Regions from separate parts of the Homo sapiens genome. Here region 2 is linked to region 1. Evidence: promoter capture Hi-C in 16 types of primary human blood cells and fetal thymus (Javierre and others, 2016). All regions are on one chromosome and are shown on one strand. Each heading gives the region's core, a stretch centred on a gene start or on the middle of the fragment in contact. The rest is flanking DNA. Distances are from core to core; before and after follow the strand shown. Region 1 holds the start of NKAIN2 (sodium/potassium transporting ATPase interacting 2). Region 2 overlaps NKAIN2 (sodium/potassium transporting ATPase interacting 2).

Region 1 (3,901 bases), core at 820-3,319:
CCTCTGCAGGATTACGGAGGGATCCATATAAATGTGTTGTTCCTATGATTAATTTGAGGAGGTAATAGAATGCTTTTGACAGTATGGCAGCAGCTTCTTCAACAGTCAATTAACTTACAGCTTTCTGTTTGGCAATGCAAAATACCCATAGCCCTAGCAGGTACAGGACAGCTAACGTGTATAAAGACAGAAGAGCAACTAAGAGAAACATTTTCCACTAGATAACTGGCTTCAGTTTTACCAAAGGTTGTGGAACTATTACCTTCCAGGCTTTGCAGTGCCTAAGAGCACATATTGGGCTCTTGGGAATTTTATTAAACATTGAAAGACACTTTTCAGAAGAAAAGCCCCTTTACAAATGGGTCGATTAAAACCAGACATTCTCATTATAGCAATAAAATATCTGTGCTCCATAAATTTAACAAAGTTAATCCCTTTTTGGCTCCCTAGGACTGACGAAACGTTTCTGAAAATTCAGTGCCAGGCTCTGGAGAATAGTCTCTCTGCCCTATTCAATTTATTTGTATTTAGTCATTCTGATACGTCATAATGTTTATTCAAAGGAAGCAATCATTCGGGATCCTTATTTGTGGTTCCCAGCATAACTTTATCCTGTATAAATGCCATTTTTCTCAGTAGGCGCCAAGTTCCAGTTGCTACAGAGAGCTCTCTGCTTGATGTGGCTTCGTCATCTTAATCTCTTAAGAAGGGTGCTAGGGAGCTGTTTGCTATTTAGCTCCCTAAACCATCCTCTTATCAATCGCGACACTTCACCCCAATGAGTCAGTTCCTCAGTGGATCTCAACAAATAATCTTCACTTCCTGGAAAAGTTAGGATTGCTTTCCTTAGCTGCCAGGGCTAAAAAGGAAACTTGGTCCTAAATATCCACGCCCCAGGGGCAGCCACTTGGGCCAGCATGTTGCGCCCTTCAGCTTTCCGCCCGCAGGTGGCAGCAGCGGGCTCCGAAGCCTGTCTCTGCAGGTAGCAGCCGCTTCACAGCTTTCAGGCCGGTGCTCAGCGGAGGCTGGTGCATCTCCACTAGGAATCCACACCCAGCTGGGACTGCTGTGAAGCTGAAGTAACTGAGTATTAAACTAGTCTCCGACTCTTTAGTATTTTAAGTGAAAACAAACAACAGTTTGAAGCAGCAACAGCAACTCATTGCATCCCTATTCCCTCCGGTTGCTAATTTTTCCCAACTCCAGCAGCAACTCGGTCCCCTTCCCCAAGCAGGGTCGGCTCCGTAGCTCTCCGCGCTCCGACCCTTCAGATCCTCGGGAGCCCAGGGGAGCCAGGTGCTGGGCGGTGCGTCCGGTGCCGCCGCGCCCCTTCTCGCCACCTCTGGCCTCTCCGCCACTCGGGCTTTCCGGCCGCTCTGGATGCCTCGGTTGCACCCCTGTTCCATGACCCCAGCTTCCTTCCCTAACCCTCCTCTTGGTCCCTTCTCCCCCGAGCGCGCGCGCACACACACACTCGGTTCGCTCCCGCGGAGTGGCTCTGGGAGCACGACCGACTTCAGCTCAGCAAACCGCGGTCATGCCGCCCAGACTCCTCGCCCCGAGGCCCCGGTCCCCGCCGCCGCCGCTTTCGCGCCGCTCCTTTCCGCCTAGACACCGCCGCCTGCGGCCGCCTGGGCGGCAGCCCCTGCGGTCCTCAAAGTTGGCCCCCTGGGAGGGGGCGGCAGGGAGCAGGATGAAGGATTTGTTGTAGGAGGAGGATTCACACATCTGGGCGAAGGGAGGGGCAGCGCCGCTGCTGGGACGCGGCGCGGACCCGCATCATTGCGCGCAGCAGCCGCTGCAGCAGCCGCCGGGGACCGCGGAGCCGGGACGCCCCCGCTCGGCCCGCGCCCCGCTCCCCGCCCCACCCCCGCCCGCCGGGCCCAGCAACGCAGGGTGCCTAGGAGCCGCGGGCTGCGCAGGGAGGCGGGCAGCGGCCCTCGCGCGCTTCTGCCGCCCCCGGAGCCGGCGCGCGGCGAGCGCAGGGCGAGCGCGCGTCGGGCGGCGGCCGCGCTGGGGGGCGTGAGGCGAGCGGCGCGGAGAGCGGCAGGGGCGAAACTTCGCGGGCCAGATGCCCGAGGGCGCGGCGGCGCTGCCAGGCTGCCGCTGCTGCCCCTGCGGGCCCCGAGCGCGCCTCCGCAGGCGGCACTGCCCGCGGCGCGGCGTGTGCACCGAGCGAGTGAAGGTATGTGTGGCGGGCGCGGCTGGAGCTGCCGCCGCCGCCGCCGCCGCGCCAGCAGGTCCTAATGCCTGTCACTTCCCAGGACGCTGGCAGCAGCAGCAGCCCGGAGCCCCCGAGCCCTCGGCAGGTTTGCGTGTCCTTCCCCGCGATCTGATTGGATAAAGTGGGGGCTCGACGGTGGCCGACGTGGGACAGTCTGGCTGTGGCAGGGGTCTCGGAAACCATGGGTTATTGCAGTGGCAGGTGCACGCTTATCTTTATCTGTGGCATGCAACTGGTAAGTGACACTTGGGTCCCCTTATTCTGTAATGTGTCTTTGAGATAGTGGGCAGGGGAGTGCAGCAAAGGGTCTGCCATTGACTAGAATGGACGAAAAAGATAAAAGAGAAGGTGACAGATATATTGCCTATATTGAAGATGATTTCAGGGAGACGCACTCTGGGGTACAGGAGAGGTGAGCCTTTCCGTTCCCACCTATTTCTGTCCCTTTTAAGACAGTTTGGCAGGTGCGGGTTAAACTTGTCTTTAATTTCTTTAGGAAAAGCAAGATGTAGCTCTTGTTCTTTATGCTTTGCATTCCTATTCATGTAACAACGTGATTGTCACCTACAATTTACCGTACAGGTTGTTAAACAGAGGAATACGGAATTTTGGACTTTTCTTCTCTATACTAATTTTGCAGTATCTTTGTTTCTTCATAGACATGTTTTTTTTCTTTTTTTAAGGAAAATGTTGTCTTTAAGTATAATGCTCTAAAAAAACCACTGTTTAGGGCACATGGTATCCTTACAACAGTCTAATTTAGACTGTTTGAGTTTTAGCCACATTGAGTTTTTAAAGTATGCAGATTGAACAAAAATACTTAGGTGAACTCAGCAACACCATTGTCATAGACGGAACCAGTAACCTTTAAATCACAATTAACACAGACAATTCCAAGAAAAACTATTCTGTCTTACATTATGCATATTATTGCTCCTGAAATAGATACTGTTGTCTGATCCTATAGGATGGAGAATTCTATGTACTTTTTGAGGAATGTTGTACAGTTGCAAAGGGGCAAGGAACCAATAATGGAAAACGTCATGTCTCTGAATTTCAATTCCCTAAGGGCAATGGAAGGAGGGTCTGAGTAGAGAGTTGAGAGGTGAAAAATACACCACTCTAAGTGGTTAATTTGAGGTAGGAGCTACTTGCTCACACTTGTCATTAAATATATTTCCTTAGAAAGTATAAATTAACTGGAATAGTCATGTCCGTTTTCAACAACTGTTTCATAAAGGTTGAAGTGACTACAAGGCAGAAGATGTTTAAGTGTCCAATCAGTAAAGTGTTCAAAAGAGCAAGGATTTGCCATTGAAACTGGCAGAGGAATTCCTTAAGTGTTCTTGTTTATCAGTTGTCGTGAAGCCCATGAGTGTTAGTTATTGCTGCTTTGTTTAATATTTAGCTGAAACAGTGCTTTTTGTTGTGTGTTGTCTTAGGATGTTTTTCTTTCCCCTGAAAGTTATCTGATGGTGTCTATTTTGATCTGTGATTTATGCGCTTATGCACTTGGTTGTAAGACAAAGATGGAACTATAAATGTAATTTTCAGAATGTGGTAGTTTCTCAATGATGTGTAAACCAGTTTATTTTTCTGTACCACAGATTCATATAAGTTTTGCAATGAAGGATTTTTACTCTTAATAATAAAGCTAACCAAAACAATGAGGGAGTT
Region 2 (3,901 bases), core at 352-2,851, 940 kb after region 1:
TTTATGATACTAAATTCTCAAAACCATTTCAAAGATAATATTCAATATTTCTTTAATAATAGCCCTGTAAGTTTTGCAGGACACAGTCACCCAAGCTGAGTGATGCTGAATAAGGCCAGAGCTGGGGTCACAGTCCTTTCCTGGTCCCTAACCACCCACAGGTCTTTTCTCACTCTGTGAGTCTCTCCTGAGCTGTCCTTGTCCCTTATTCTAATTCCATCAGGTGTGTGTTGCAGTTTTATTGAGCCATTTTCAGAGCCAATTAATCAGAAAACACTGTTTTTCCATGATTTGGGGGATTCCTCTAGTAATGACTTTGCAGCCATAATCAAGAAATATGTTAAGCCTTATGTCAATTAACTTAACTGATGTGAAAACTTGACTGGTCCAGGGAGCAATGGATTTCCCCAGCTGCACCTTATCAGAGAACAGCTTAGTGTGAAGGAGAGAAGTTATGCTGAAGCCAGAGCTGTAAACGTGCCAGGAAAATTAGCACAAGCTCCAAGTACAGAGGGTGAAGAAGAAAACTTGCTTAGCCCATGTATGGGTGTTGCTTAAACAGTTATGAATTATTTTAAAATCTTTCATTGATGGGATGAATAGTCGCATACATTTTTGCCACATGTAAGTTTCTCCAAAGAATTGGGCCCACAAGAGAAATGGAGGAGGGGGGCCTACATGCAAGCAGATGAGGGGCATTTGCTTCCCCAAAAATATTCTTATATTTTTTATAATGTGCCTCATTAAAATATGAAACACTCAATTCAAAGCAAAAATTGAAATAGGATACTCCTGACTCTTCCCTTTCTTCCCTCTATTTCCTCATGATATAGTCTTAGCACTTCTTTTAAATGTTACAATAGTGCTTCACAAACAATTTTTTTTGCCAGTCCGTCACAATGAATGTTTTTGAAAAATATAATAAAAACAAATTATCACAAAAGTGAAATAAGAAGATGAAAAAACTAAGCACACTTTGTGGTTATTATATTCAACAGTCATGAAAATCACACCACAATTTGCCATGAAAGTTTCTTAACATTTAACTCTGTACAAGTATCGTTGCAGAACAATAAGGCCACAACACGTACACAAGCACTTTGTCTTAGCACCATATCAACAATTACCTGTAAAGCTTTATCTTGGCATTTTCCACTATGCAACTGTTGGTTTACACAGCCCCATTAGACTGGGAGTTCTGTAATGGGTAAGCCAGCAGTTAACACTTGGAGGCACTCAGTAAGTATTTATTGAATGAATAAGTCAATGAATAAGTGAAGCACAAAAGAGCATAAGCCTTTCTGCTCTTAACACCTACAGGCACTCTTCTTACATCAGGAAAGCTCCCATGCTCTCCTGATTCCTTTGCCCCAGATTCCAAGGGTACAGATGCTTTTCTCACCTTTGGTGGTAACTGCCACCTGCTTGTCCCAAAGAGCTTCTTTGTTTCCCTGTCTTCCCACAAAGGTGATAACAAAGATTTTTTTTACAGTTTAAGAGTATCAGTGCCAATCACTTTTCAGACAAAACAAGATAAAATGCAATAAATAAACACGGAGGAAGTTATAAAAATTTCAACATAAAGCGCAGATCTATCGTCTTGTTTTCTGCTATTCAGAGCACTAAAGACACTGGGTTTTGTGTCTTTATCTGTGGGTTTCTCTAGTTTATCCATTTGATTTACTGAGTTTGTGTGAAAATATTGATTAAATCTTTTCTTAGAACCAGTTGAGAACCATTTGCTACTTTCCCCAGCTCTGATATTAACTTCTAATTTAAAAAAAAAAAGAAGTGTGCAAGTATATTCGTTTTCTATTGCAGCTGTAACAAGGAACCATAAACTTAATGGTTTAAAACAACAAAAATTTATTGTCTCACGACTTCTGTAGGTCAGAAGTCTAACACAGTCTCACTGAGCTGAAATTACAGTGTTAGCAGGGCTGCATTCTTTTCCAGAGGTTCTAGGAGAAATTTCATTTCATTAATATTCAGGTCATTGAAAGAATTCAGTTCTTTGAGGTTGTGTCACTGAGTCCTCATTTCCTTGCTATCAACTGAGGGCTGTTCCAAGCTTCTAGTGGCCACCAGGTCTCTCTGCTTGAGTCTTCCTCCATCCTGAAATCCAGCAACAGCTAGTGGAGATCTTCTCATGATGAATCTCTCTGACCCAAGCTGGGAAAGCGTCTCTGCTTTTAAGAGCTCCTGTGACTGAACACAGTCCATCTGTATAATCCAGAATAATTTCCCCATCTCAAGATCTGTAACCTTTTTCATATCTGTGAAGTTCCTTTAGCTATGTCATGTAACAGGTTCGCAGGTTATAGGGACTAGGGGATGGACGTATTTGGGGACCTCACCCTGCCTATCTCAACAACAAATTTATAAATTTATTCTAGGGTAAAAAAGAAAATTATAAATGTATGTTTTTAACTTTACATCATCCTTGGATAAGGTCCTAATCTTATATGAGCACTCAGGACAAGGCTCTAAGAGATTTTATGGTGGAGTCACACTGTGTGCATCGTCATACTGGGAAAGGACTTTGTACTTTGTTTATTTTGTTCATCTGGTCCTTTGGATTGTCCCCCACATGCTCTTTCAATCCCAGTGCACCCTCCAGATTTCTGTCATTGTCAACTTATGCCCCAATTCTCTGCATAAAATTCTAAAATTGTAGATCAAAAATCCACACTATAATATTAAATCCCATTTATTTTGTTTGGCAAATCTGATTCTTCATAATTTGATCTCACCCTATTTTATAACCCCATTTCCCACTATTTCCCCTTCATTTCCTATAATACACCAAAATACTTGCAAAATTCTGTGCCACTTATGCTTATCTTTGCACATGCTCTTCTTTCTGCTTGGATGGAACTTCCTTTCTGCTTGGATGAAATTTCTCTTTGGGGACATGTGATATAATTGAAATAGCATCAGCTTGGAAACCATTTTGATTTGTATTTGACCTAGTCACTCTGACACTTACTAGGCCTGAGACTTTCAGAAGCTCCTTTGCCTGTGGTGCAAAATGGGATTATTAAAACCTACTTTGTAAGAATATTTTGAGGCTTTGAAATAATACACATGAAAGCGTATAACACAACGTCTGTCATATGATGGACATTTACTAAATGTTAGTTATTCTTTTGCCCTAGAGAACCTCATTTTTCCTCCAGGCTTAAGTTCACCACTTCTGTCACATTGCCCAGACCCATCAGGTAGAGTAAGATTCTCAACCTTGAGTCTTCCATAACTGTGTATATTTAGCACTATCACATTTTAGTGGGCAATGTCTATACCCACCTGTGTCCTCTAATACCTTATAAACTTCTTGAGTGAAAGAATGTCTTGTTTATCATTTTAGCCATAGCACCTGGCAAAGGTACAAATTAGTCATTCAAAAGTCTGGAGGAAGAGATGGATGGATGGATGGATGGATGGATGGATGGATGGATGGATGGATGGATATGAGATAAATGTAGAATCTAGCATAATAACTAACAAATAATACATATGCTTCATTTACTTTAAATATACCAGTTGTGTAAGTATATCATTCTGGCTGTGTTGTTTTGTCTTTTTATCTCTTTGGCTGCCTTGTTCACTGAATAACTGTATGTTTACATTTTTATTCCTATAGTTATGTTAAATTCCTAAAAGGTTGTGTCTTTCATTTCTTTGCTACCTTCACTCAAGCAAAACATTTGCATTCTATACATTGTGACCCTTCGGTGCAGTTCAACAGAGTAATCTGTTTTTAACTTTGCACCATTCTTGGATAAGGTCCCAATCTTATATGAGCACTCAGGACAAGGCTCTAAGAGATTTTATGGTGGAATCACACCATAAAATCTACCTAAAAAACTAATATTTAGGGTTTCTGGATAGAGCAAGAGCT

The links. Contacts are between HindIII fragments. The CHiCAGO score rates a contact against its expected background, and 5 or more counts as called.
Region 2: a fragment that was not itself captured here is called in contact with the fragment with the promoter of NKAIN2 in region 1 in 1 of 17 cell types (M2 macrophages); the score reaches 5.9 in M2 macrophages.

The regions. Positions count from the first base shown.
Region 1 is chr6:123,801,796-123,805,696 of GRCh38, forward strand. It overlaps NKAIN2 (sodium/potassium transporting ATPase interacting 2), which reads left to right and starts at 2,070. Exons shown (of 7, transcript NM_001040214.3): 1 at 2,070-2,459. The coding sequence starts at 2,406. RefSeq lists an enhancer at 826-875. The HindIII fragment of the contact is 9,489 bases long and covers 1-3,901 here.
Region 2 is chr6:124,747,077-124,750,977 of GRCh38, forward strand. The region is part of intron 4 of NKAIN2 (sodium/potassium transporting ATPase interacting 2); the gene reads left to right. Among named protein-coding and RNA genes, the nearest start is that of RNF217, 210 kb to the right of the region's middle. RefSeq lists a silencer at 334-534. The HindIII fragment of the contact is 936 bases long and covers 1,134-2,069 here.